3 separate regions of the Homo sapiens genome follow, and all the other regions are linked to region 2. Evidence: promoter capture Hi-C in 16 types of primary human blood cells and fetal thymus (Javierre and others, 2016). All regions are on one chromosome and are shown on one strand. The core of a region is centred on a gene start or on the middle of the fragment in contact, and the rest is flanking DNA. Distances in the headings are between cores, read along the strand shown. Region 1 holds the start of MAP3K12 (mitogen-activated protein kinase kinase kinase 12). Region 2 holds the start of RPL41 (ribosomal protein L41). Region 3 holds the start of SP1 (Sp1 transcription factor).

What was found. The method cuts DNA at HindIII sites, captures the fragments that hold promoters and counts their contacts. A CHiCAGO score of 5 or more calls a contact.
Region 1: a contact is called between the fragment with the promoter of MAP3K12 here and a fragment that was not itself captured in region 2, in 2 of 17 cell types (fetal thymus and total B cells). The highest score is 8.4, in fetal thymus.
Region 3: a contact is called between the fragment with the promoter of SP1 here and a fragment that was not itself captured in region 2, in 2 of 17 cell types (total B cells and total CD4 T cells). The highest score is 5.3, in total B cells.

What each region holds. Positions count from the first base shown.
Region 1 is chr12:53,497,464-53,500,975 of GRCh38, forward strand. MAP3K12 (mitogen-activated protein kinase kinase kinase 12) reads right to left here and starts at 1,995. Exons shown (of 14, transcript NM_001193511.2): 1 at 1,964-1,995. It also overlaps a transcript of TARBP2 not described here. RefSeq lists a silencer at 2,112-2,361 and an enhancer at 3,455-3,512. The HindIII fragment of the contact is 6,087 bases long and covers 1-3,433 here.
Region 2 is chr12:56,115,358-56,119,120 of GRCh38, forward strand. RPL41 (ribosomal protein L41) reads left to right here and starts at 1,276. Exons shown (of 3, transcript NM_001035267.2): 1 at 1,276-1,442; 2 at 1,832-1,854; 3 at 2,125-2,610. The coding sequence starts at 1,431. The coding sequence ends at 2,167. ZC3H10 (zinc finger CCCH-type containing 10) reads left to right here and starts at 2,909. Exons shown (of 3, transcript NM_032786.3): 1 at 2,909-2,961; 2 at 3,731-3,763. RefSeq lists an enhancer at 868-917 and a silencer at 2,584-2,633. The HindIII fragment of the contact is 308 bases long and covers 1,463-1,770 here.
Region 3 is chr12:53,378,466-53,382,484 of GRCh38, forward strand. It overlaps SP1 (Sp1 transcription factor), which reads left to right and starts at 1,711. Exons shown (of 6, transcript NM_138473.3): 1 at 1,711-1,833; 2 at 3,194-3,348; 3 at 3,645-4,019. The coding sequence starts at 1,827. RefSeq lists enhancers at 804-1,304, 1,208-1,507, 1,340-1,634, 2,485-3,243, 3,656-3,905 and a silencer at 1,748-2,377. The HindIII fragment of the contact is 463 bases long and covers 1,391-1,853 here.

The DNA of each region.
Region 1 (3,512 bases), core at 745-3,244, 2.6 Mb before region 2:
ATCTGGTCACTGTCACAGTCTCCTCACCTTCTCCACGCACACATATGACCCCAGTCCTTCTGGGAGCCAATGAACCAGACAGACCAGTCTCTGTGGCCAGGCCCTCATGAAGCCCCTATGTCCCCTGCTGGCATCATCTCAACAGTATCCTCCTTCTTCCCAGCATCACCTCAGTCAACAGTGTGAGTGAATGCATGAGTGGCTGGCGTGAGGGGCAGACATTTCCACCTCACTGGAAGAAGCATGGCAGCTGGGGGTCCCAGGGCTTGACTGGTGTAGGGCTGAGGACCTGAATGTAGGGGTGATCTCCAGTCCACCCTAGCAAGGACTTCTTACAGGGTTGATTCCTTCTTTCTCTCCAGATCCAGGCAGGGGAGAGGGAGGACTGTGCATTACGAGAGTCCGGGCTGTGAGTGGTAGAACCAAGAGTCCTCTTCCTAGAAAAGCCTGATCCTACCACAGTGTCACCACGAGGGGAAAAGCAATTGGTTTTTAGAAGGGTTCTGCCCTCTTCAGCTATAAGGAAGCCTAGGAAATCCTGAGCCATGTCTAACTTCTTGCCTCCTCTGTCCATAACTGGGATGGATATTTAGCTGGTGTCTCCATGTTGAGAGCTGGGGTTTTCCTAACATTACCCCAGTTGACAATGGGAGTGAGTGGATGAATGATACGCTTGAGGGGACACACTTTTTTTCACCTGTAAGTGTGAGATAGGAGGGAGTGGGGCCCTAAAGCTCAGAGAAACTTCAGTGTCTGGACAGGAAGGCTCAGGGGGCACTTGAGTCCTATCCTTCCTAAATCCTTTCTGTTAGCCTTAGCTTGGTAGGACCCTCTGGCTGAAACTCAGAGCTCCTAGAGCAATGGAGTCCACCTTGAGAACTGCAAGGGAAATGTGTTTAGAGGGATGCACTGACTGTGGCTTGAGACGACTCTGGGTGGGGTGAGGAGACCTCATGTGCACTCCCTTCTGATTGGAGGCCACTCACCTACGCTCCTCTGAAAAAGGCAGCAGATGAGCATCTACAAGGTAGGACTCCTCCCTTAATTCTAAGGGACACCTCACTGTTTCCTCCCACTGTCTACAGAGCCTTGACTCTTCCCTCCTCTCAGTCAAGGCCTTGGTTACCAGCAAGTCTCAACTCTTGTTTATTTTTAAGCCAATGAGTTTGAGGAGTGTTTGTGGGAAAGGGAGGAGGTTTTTGGAGGGCCTGACTGGGGGAGATGGGTTAGGGGAGCCAGAGGAGATGGAGAGAAAGAGGAGGGAGAAACCCACACGTGAATGGGGGAGGGGAGGATGCAACAGCTGGATGGAGGTGAATGCCACAGCTGGAGGTGAATGCCACAGCTGGAGGGGATTAGGAGGATCACAGCTTGAAGGGGAGGGGGACCAACGCCTGGGCATGCAGGAACAGGTGCTCTCTGACTAATCTTCAGGTCCAGCCTGCTGTGTGTGTGTGTGTGTGTGTGTGTGTGTGTGTGTGTGTGTGTGTGTGTGTGTGTGTGTGTGTGTGTGTGTGTGTGTGTGTGTGTGTGTGTGTGTGGAGATGGTGGGTATATCAGTCCTTGCCCTTCCTTTCCTTCCCTAGAGGGGGCCAAAACTCTCCCTCCTCCTTCCCTCTCTCTCTTCCTGAGGATGAGTGGGAGGAGATGTTCTCTTGCCCTCTGTCCTTTAAGTCTGTCCCCCAATCATCCTCCACCCCACCCCAATACGGTCCTTTCCAGCTCTGGAGGCCCTTCGTCTCCAAGCTGGGCCGCGGCATCCCTCCGCTCCATTCCCTTCCTTCCCAGCCCCACAGGCGTCGGGTCCAGGTCCCCAGTTCCTCCATCCCCACAGCCTCAGCATCCCCACGCCATCACCCCGCACCAGGCCACATCTGCATCCCGACCCTCCCTCCACGCCCGGATCCCAGGACCCAGACCCATCCCTGCCCCCCACCCCCCCACAACTCGGCCAGGCTCTCACCTCGGGGGCTCCGCGGCCGCAGCACAAAAGGCGGCGCTGCTGCAGCTCCGCTCCGGATGCTGCTCCCGCCTCCTCCTCCTTCTCCTCCTCCTTCCCTCCTCCCCCCGCTGCCCTCCACCGGACCCGGGGCGCTGTCACAGGCGATGCTCGTGCGGTGTCCGGATGCACGGGTGTCAGCTTCAGCTTTCTGCCCCCACCCCCCGACCCCTAGCCCCGTCCCTGCTCGGCTTGAACTCCCGCTCCTTCCAGGGCCCCCGCCCCTGGCCCCCCGGGACGGACACGCCCTGAGCGGGGGATGCTGCGATGGAGCCGCCGGCCTCTTAAAGGAGCCCGCTGCTGCCATCCGGCGCGCTCCAGGCTCGTACCTGGCCCGCCTGGGCCCCGCGCCTCCCTGCTGGCGGTGTCCTATGGAGGTCCCACCTCAGGCCTCAGGCTGATTCCACAGGAACCCCCTATGACCCGTCTTATAGACTCCTTTCTACATCGGAGAGAGCAGCCCCTCAGTTGGGATCCCTAGCGCTCTGGCATTGCTCCCCCTATCATACCGATCTTGCCAGCTCTCCTTCCCTTGATTGTCACCACTCACTCCAATTTCACCCACTTGGAATTCACTCGGCTCTAGGCCCCATCCTCCTCCAGTGTTCCTGGATGACCCCTCATTATCATTTCAAGATTCCTCTGGACCTCCAACCCCGGCTCAGAGTAAGACATCTTTCTTGACCCCTTCTCAGAACACTCATTAGAACCTTTTTTTTTTTTAATGTGGTCTCTCCCTTTCTCTCTCCAAGGTCACAAGATTTCCCTCAGCCCAGTGGTTGTGCAACTTTGGGGGAGGAGGCAATGGGGCTCTAGGACTAAACAATGCGCGTCTGCTCAACACCCAGATCAGTTGATTAATCTTAGGCGGCCAAAATTCACTTTTGCTCTCTTCAGCTGAGAGACCCAAGACTCATGGAAGAGGGAACAAGACCACCAAGGTGCCTAGTCCTTCTAATCCTGTCGTCCCACATTACAGCCTGATTATCAGGCCCCAGAGGTTTCCTCGCCAGTTAAAGAGAGGTTCACTAGAGCGGTTCTAAAAAGGTTTCACAAAAGAAGCAACACCTGAAGGGAGGTGAAGGACGACCTAGGAAAAGGAAGCAAGTTCTGTGTCACGGAGGCCCAAGGGCAAGGGGCTTAGGCTGTGGGTTGAGGGGACTGTCTGAGACGGACTTAAACCTGCACCAGCTCCAGAGCCCTGCGGAAACAGAGATCGGTCCCCTCCGGCGTCTAGGTAAGGCCCACCCTCCCAGACCGCAAAGAGCCAGGATCCGACGGCAGCCTCTCCGGACCAATCACAACCTTCCTTCATCAAGGAGGCGGGGTCGGGGGGGGCTGACTTTTCCTTGTCTCCGCCCCTTTAGTCGAAGTAACCAATCTCAGTGCACCTAGGGGAAGTAATCGCAATGGGAGTAACCAATGACGCCATGAAGCTTCTCGTGCGTGCTTGACCCTGCCTCTCCAGCTGCGACACAGATGGCGCGCGGGCTCTTGGGTTCTGTAGTTTTCT
Region 2 (3,763 bases), core at 367-2,866:
TCTCACCTGAGCATACAATCAAACTGGGAAGTTCTTTATCTTAACACCAAATGTCATACTTTCCCTAGATTTAGGTAATTTTCTCCCTATGTCCGTTGGTTCGCTCTTCACCCCTAGAGAATCACTGCATAGGTCACTGCAGCCTCGACTTCCTGGGCTCGAGATTCCCCCACCTCAGCCTCCCAAAGCGCTGGGATTACAGGCATGAGCCACCGTGCCCAGCCCGCTGACGTATTTTCTGAACAAATGATGCATTGTAGCCAGGAATCTCTAGTGATATTTTGCTTCGGGCATCGTGGGGGAAGACCATAATCAGCTATTTTATTCTTGAAATTTAGGAAAAATAATTGCTCTATCTTAAACAGTGAGAAAATATTTTTTGAAGTATGGCAGCTTTCCCGAATCCCCACTTTATATCTTCCTATGTTCTGAAATCTTAGGACCTTCGATGGTTCCGGAATCGAATCACCCTGCAGCAATTTATTTTAGAAAATAAGGCAAACCGGCTGGGCGCGGTGGTTCATGCTTGTAATCCCAGCACTTTGAGAGGCCGAGGCGGGCGGATCGCTTGAGCTCAGGAGTTCGAGACCAGCCTGGGCAACACAGCGAAACCTCGTCTCTACTAAAAATACAAAAATTAGCCAAGTGGCGCGCGCCTGTTGTCCCAGCTGCTCGGGAAGCTGAGGCGGGAGAATCGCTTGTATTCAGGAGGCGGAAATTGCGGTGAGCCGAGATCGCGTCACTGCACTCCAGCCTGGGTGACACAGTGAGATCCTGTCTCAAAAAAGAAAAAAAGAAAGAAAGAAAGAAAAGAAAGAAAGAAAGAAAGAAAGAAAGAAAGAAAGAAAGAAAGAAAGAAAGAAAGAAAGAAAAGAAGGCAAACCAGTAAAACAAGAATTTCTGTACAGTCCGCGCCTATCCATAGCAAAATGGAGGACTTCTCCAGGGAACTGCAACTCCCAAGAAGCAATGCGAGGGAAGGTGGCGGTCACTATTTTTTCCCCGTCTGCACCTCTAGGTCCAATATTGGAAATAGGTGCTGACGTTTAAATAACACAGCGTCCTCATACTAAATCTGGGGGGGAACTGGTAACTCGAAAACCAAATACTCGGTCTTCCGAAAGAACTAACTCAACCTACCCTTCTACAAGAGGGTCCGAAAACCACTGTTACGCCCATTGGGTAGCCCCGCCCTTGGGGGGGGCAAAGGGCGTGAAAGCGGAAGTGACGACACCCGGCGCTCCATTAAATAGCCGTAGACGGAACTTCGCCTTTCTCTCGGCCTTAGCGCCATTTTTTTGGGTGAGTGTTTTTTGGTTCCTGCGTTGGGATTCCGTGTACAATCCATAGACATCTGACCTCGGCACTTAGCATCATCACAGCAAACTAACTGTAGCCTTTCTCTCTTTCCCTGTAGAAACCTCTGCGCCATGAGAGCCAAGGTGAGCGGTTCCTGGTAGTAAGCTTGGGAGGTAGGAGTTGGCGAGTAGTAGCGAGGAGACGAAGGCAAGTCCGCCATACCTCCTGAACTACTGGGTTTCAAGGGTGCCCAAGAGCTGGTGGGAGAGAGAAGGTAGTTTGTGAGAGAGCTAGCGGTTAAGTGCTATGGGTAGAGAGGGTGGGCTTAGAAAAGGGTGGAATTCTGATCTTATGTTGGGAGGGTGTCCAAGTTACTGATGTAGTTGTTACGACCAATCTTTCATACTTCTTGGTTAAGAATCTGTCCGGTTCTAAAGAGTGCATTTCATATCCTTGCTAAGCCTACTAATAAGCTTCATCCCTTTTTTTTTTTTTTTTTTTTAATTATCTGCTGCTTGTGATCGGTTGCTAGTGGAGGAAGAAGCGAATGCGCAGGTACGTTGAGACTTTGCCAGCCCAGGAGGAGGGAAGTTCCTTGGACAAAACTTAGGAGAAACATTTGGTTTGGAAATCTTAAAAGATCTTTAGGAGAAAAACGTTTGAGTGTTTTCTCCCTGGAGCCAGGATTTAACAGAACAGAGAACGATAGAACCGTAGTGCTTGTTCATTTTACCACCTCATTCTTTATGTGGACGTTTGATTTAATGTGGGAGGGAAAGGCAACTCTGGTTTGAGGTGTATTCCATTCCTGTGTCTGCTTTTCAGGCTGAAGCGCAAAAGAAGAAAGATGAGGCAGAGGTCCAAGTAAACCGCTAGCTTGTTGCACCGTGGAGGCCACAGGAGCAGAAACATGGAATGCCAGACGCTGGGGATGCTGGTACAAGTTGTGGGACTGCATGCTACTGTCTAGAGCTTGTCTCAATGGATCTAGAACTTCATCGCCCTCTGATCGCCGATCACCTCTGAGACCCACCTTGCTCATAAACAAAATGCCCATGTTGGTCCTCTGCCCTGGACCTGTGACATTCTGGACTATTTCTGTGTTTATTTGTGGCCGAGTGTAACAACCATATAATAAATCACCTCTTCCGCTGTTTTAGCTGAAGAATTAAATCATCTTGTCTATTATGTTTTTTATGGTTCCATCGGGTGGGGGTTTTCTGTCATTAGAGTTTGCCCTGTCACTACCTGTGCTATGGAGGGTATCAAAGCTATAAAGGCAACAGCCCGGGTTACGTGGTGTGGTTTGCATCTCGCTGGAGTTGGATGGGATATGGTACGTCTCTGGAGGCAGGTTTTAGGTTTCGCGGGTTATTAGGGGCCAATGCTGGTACCGCCCCTTTCCAGGAGGGCTGCCTTGGCGACTACCGCTTAGACCATGTCGTGCCTTTGGGTTGGGTTGCCATAGTGACACGCAAAGCGTGCTGGGAACGCCCTGCGGCATGTCGCACGCGTACTTCATACACCATAGAGTATGGTTCCGGGTCTGCTGGCTAGAGCGTCACTTCTTCCGCAGGAAGCGGAAGAGCGATCGGGTAGGCGGCTCTTTGTCGAAGCTAGAGGACCGGCAGGCGGCAGCAGCAACTACGGCGGCGGCGGCAGGTGAGGGAGGCGGGAGACTTAGGTGGAGGCCGCGCCCGGAGGGGAGGAGTCGGGGCCGGCCCAGCGGCTGGGCTCGGCCAGGCCACAGAAGGCCCCCCAGAACCGAGCTGGCTCGTCCTCACACCCCAGGGCAGTGCCCCTTTTCTGAGTGACCCCGCATCGCGAGCAAACGCCAGCTTCGTGACGTCACAACCCTGCCCATCCCCTCAGCTTGATGACACCTGGAGCTCCAGCTCCCCGCTTCACTTCGCGCGCCCTTAGTGTCCCATTCACGTAGCCCACGGCTGAGCGCCGGCGGCACTGCACGGAACCTGCCAAGCTAGAAGACTTGCTGCGGGAAAACTCCTAGGACTTCTTTCGCAAACTCTAGGGTGTTGGGAAGCGTCACAATCACTGCCTTCAAGTCTAATCGGCCATCCCAATGCACTGTCAGACGCTGCCTTTTTGAGGTTCCTCACTAGCCATTACTAACTCCAGCCCTTGGCGGTGCTCTGACCCTCACATCCTCTTTCATCTTGAGGCAGGGCGCCCCGCACTCTTTGTTCACTCAGGGCTGGTTTTCCAACCCCTCCTCCCAGTCCCTCCGAATTAGTTTTACTCTTCTTACTGGCAACTTCTCCCTTGGACAGGTGAAGTTCAGTTTGAACCCTGAGGAAATCCTCACGTTCTCGAAGCTTTGCCGTTTTGTCAGATTTCTTGTGACAACCACCCCATAGTCCTCCACTCTTACTCCTTCTTCCACCCAAGTCTCTGTTTTTTTCCTGCTCAGAACCCAGCAGTGATGTGGAGGTGGAGACCCACA
Region 3 (4,019 bases), core at 461-2,960, 2.7 Mb before region 2:
GGCGGCAGTTTAATTCCCTCAAGAATTTATAGAAAACTTTTGGTGGAACTATTCTGGGTTGGAATCTAACACTACAACTCATTTGCTTTGTGACCTTGGGTAAGTCACTTCTCAGCCTAAATGTCTTCACTTATAAAATACATAATATAGCTGATACTTAATAAAATCTTCCTTTTAAGGATGACATGGAATACTAACTGCCTCCCTGACTTAGGCACCTAACACGGTAGGCAGTCAGCAATCACTTCACCTTTTTACCTGTTTAAAGCAGCAGAGGCCTCAGTTCTTACCTTCAAAGGGCTTAAAATAGTTTAGGAGAATTCACATTTTAAAACATAAGAACATATAAGCAGGTGACAACATATAAGATACAAATACTGAAGGACATGACCTCATCGTGTCATTGACAAGCTATTAAGGCCGGCTCCACCAAAACACGGATAAAGAGGAGGCCAGAAATCCAGGTGCCTGCAGTAAAGTTTCTTAACCTTCGTGATTGCAAAAAGCTGGAGCTCAGCTATCTTGCTTTATGCATAGGCGGTATTTACTATTAAGGGGGAAAAAATGGAAGTGACTTATCCGCACTTTAGCCTCAAGGCTTGAAAAGTTAACCAGTCGTTTAAGTGGTTAGCGCCTTTGTCTGGGGGAACTTAATAAAATCGCGTTTTCTGGAGTCTCACGGAGACTCTGCATATTGGTCAGCTCAGTATTAACTTATTCGGTGAGTGCTGTCACCAGATCTCGTCCCGCCTGCATTCCCAGGGCTTGCAGCGACATTGAGGCATCTGCCCGCCTGTCCGACCACCCGGGAGGGGGGTAAGATTTGAGAGGTACTTTATAGGGGCAGTTAAATGAAGACGCAAACAAGTCCTAGTGTTGATGCGGAACTGCGCGCCGAATGCCTTGGCTCTGACACCTGTTGAGCTGCAGGACTCCGCTAAAGCGTCCCACCTAATGACTGTAACAACGTCCCCTGAGGAGGGCCAATATGGCGACGGTCTCCTCTTGGCATAGCCCTCTTCCCTCCCTCATGATGGGCAGCTCCAGTAACGCCCATTGGCTAACTAGGAGGCGGTGCCAGGCCTACTTCGTCCCCTCATTGGATTGAATAACTGAGGGAGCCGCCAATTCTCCTCTGCCACTCCAAGTTTCCGCCCTCAGTTAATTCGGCGTTTAATTGGCTTTTAGTTCACGTCAATATGCGTCCTTTCCTGTCTCTTTTCAGTCTAACTCCAATCATAACGTTCCTGGCTGCCCGCCTGATTTCTGATTGGTTTTAATCAGCTTCATCCTCTCCTATTCCTGCCTACTTCTTACCTCTCCGCCCACTAGGATTTTGCCCAAGCATATCCCGGATTCTGGTTGGCCGTTGTTCTGTCATTCCTATCAAAGCTTTGCCTATCCCTACGTCTCAGGGAGCCCGCCTGCCGGTTGACTGGTTTCCTTCCAAGCCAATCATCTCCAGCTCCCGCCCATCTTCACTTCCTGCATCCTTCATTGGCTTTTAACACTGAGAGGGCGGTCTTTTTAGGCGGACACCAGGCACGCAACTTAGTCTCACACGCCTTGGAGAGCAAGCGAGTCTTGCCATTGGATAATTCCACCGTCTTTCTTCTGCAAGTCCCTCCTTTCCCCCTCCCTCATTGGGCGGGGCAGCAGAGAAGGGGCGGGGCCTAGGTTGGGCTTGTGGCGCGCTGCTCCCTCCTCCTTACCCCCCCCTCCCTGTCCGGTCCGGGTTCGCTTGCCTCGTCAGCGTCCGCGTTTTTCCCGGCCCCCCCCAACCCCCCCGGACAGGACCCCCTTGAGCTTGTCCCTCAGCTGCCACCATGAGCGGTAAGGATGAGTCCACTCCAAGCTTAGGGGTGGGAGGCGAGTGAGGGGGCGCGCGCGAGGGCCGACCGGGCGATCCCCGCCGTGAAGCGGGGGCGGGCGGGAGGCGGCGGCGGCGGCGGCCTAGGTCCCGCCCGGGGCGGAGGGAAGGGAGGGAGACGGGGCAGTGGCGGGGCCTCCGAGGAGGAGGGGGATGGGCCGCCCGCCCCGGGGGAGGGGGCAGCGTGGCCTCGCCCGCCCCCTGCCCGCCCCGGCCACGGGGGACGGGCCTTACCCCCCACTACTCGGCCGCCCGCCTGAGGCTCCTCCCGCCGGGGGCTGGAGCCGCGGGGGCGGCCCGAGCAGCGAAGGCCCCGCCCGGGCCAACCGCCTGCCTGGTCCGCCCTCTGGTCGCCGCCTGCTCCAAGGCCCTCCTCCCCCCACTTTCCGTAGATTTCCCTTCCCCCCCGCCCCCCACCGTCCCGCCCTTTCCACGCCCCTCACCCCGAAACCGCCCTTTCCCTCAGGGCCCGCCCTCCGCCCCGAAACCTTCTGACTACTAACCTGTAGATCCCTTTAGTTCCTTAGCAGTATTCACAAATGTTTTTCTACTCACACTTTTTACTTCTTTTTCCCCTCTCGTTACTTTTCACACTTGGATTTTTGTTTGTCTTTTTTTTTTTTTTTTTTTTTGAGACGGAGTTTTCGCTCTTGTTACCCAGACTGGAATGCAATGGTGCGATCTCGGCTCACTGCAACCTCTGCCTCCCGGATTCAGGCGATTCTCCTGCCTCAGCCTCCGGGAGTAGCTGGAATTACAGGCATGCGCCACCACACCCGGCTAATTTTGTATTTTTAGTAGAGACAGGGTTTCTCCATGTTGGTCAGGCTGGTCTCAAAACTCCCGACCCCAGGTGATCTGCCTGCCTCCGCCTCCCAAAGTAATGGGATTACAGGCGTGACCACCGCGCCTGGCCTCTCCATCTCTTTTAAACTTAATTTTAGCAAGCTTTCCATGCACCCACATGTTGTTTTATGCCTTACCTGTCCTTTTCCTTTTTTTCCCTTAGGATACTTTTTCTTATTTAGAAACTCTCACCATGCCTACCGTCCTTCACATTTCCTATCCCCAAAGCACTTTTTGAATGTTTTCTTAGTTTAATTTTGTACAAGGGAGAATTAAGGCCCACTTTTGGCACATTGAACCTAGTTCATGTCCTGCATGCCCTGCAGCTCCCCTCTGCCCTCCAATCCATTTTCTTTATACTGGTGGCTTTCGCCTTCCTGTTAGTCATTGCTATTTCATCATAGCCTCCTTTTATCCTTCCTACTTCATTTCTTTTCTTCCCTCAAGTTTACGTTGTTTGTTTTTTAATTATTTTAGACCAAGATCACTCCATGGATGAAATGACAGCTGTGGTGAAAATTGAAAAAGGAGTTGGTGGCAATAATGGGGGCAATGGTAATGGTGGTGGTGCCTTTTCACAGGCTCGAAGTAGCAGCACAGGCAGTAGCAGCAGCACTGGAGGAGGAGGGCAGGTAAGTGATAATCATAGAGTGGGGAAGGTGTTGAGAAGATGTAAATATTCTTAGATAATTGCCTTACTCTTCACAGAAAGCGTTTTAGGGAGAGACTAAACCATTTTATAGATAAGGAAGTAAGAGAATGGAGATCCCCAAAGACAAAGGAGTTTCAGCAATACAGATAGGTCAGCTTTTTGTTTCTGTTTTTTGCTCCTTGTCTGCACTACGTTGCTGTTTATTTGTTGTATACTGCCCCCTAGGCTGGCAGCTGGGTGTCACTAACTCCTTTCCTCTCCCTTATTTTCGGCCAGGAGTCCCAGCCATCCCCTTTGGCTCTGCTGGCAGCAACTTGCAGCAGAATTGAGTCACCCAATGAGAACAGCAACAACTCCCAGGGCCCGAGTCAGTCAGGGGGAACAGGTGAGCTTGACCTCACAGCCACACAACTTTCACAGGGTGCCAATGGCTGGCAGATCATCTCTTCCTCCTCTGGGGCTACCCCTACCTCAAAGGAACAGAGTGGCAGCAGTACCAATGGCAGCAATGGCAGTGAGTCTTCCAAGAATCGCACAGTCTCTGGTGGGCAGTATGTTGTGGCTGCCGCTCCCAACTTACAGAACCAGCAAGTTCTGACAGGACTACCTGGAGTGATGCCTAATATTCAGTATCAAGTAATCCCACAGTTC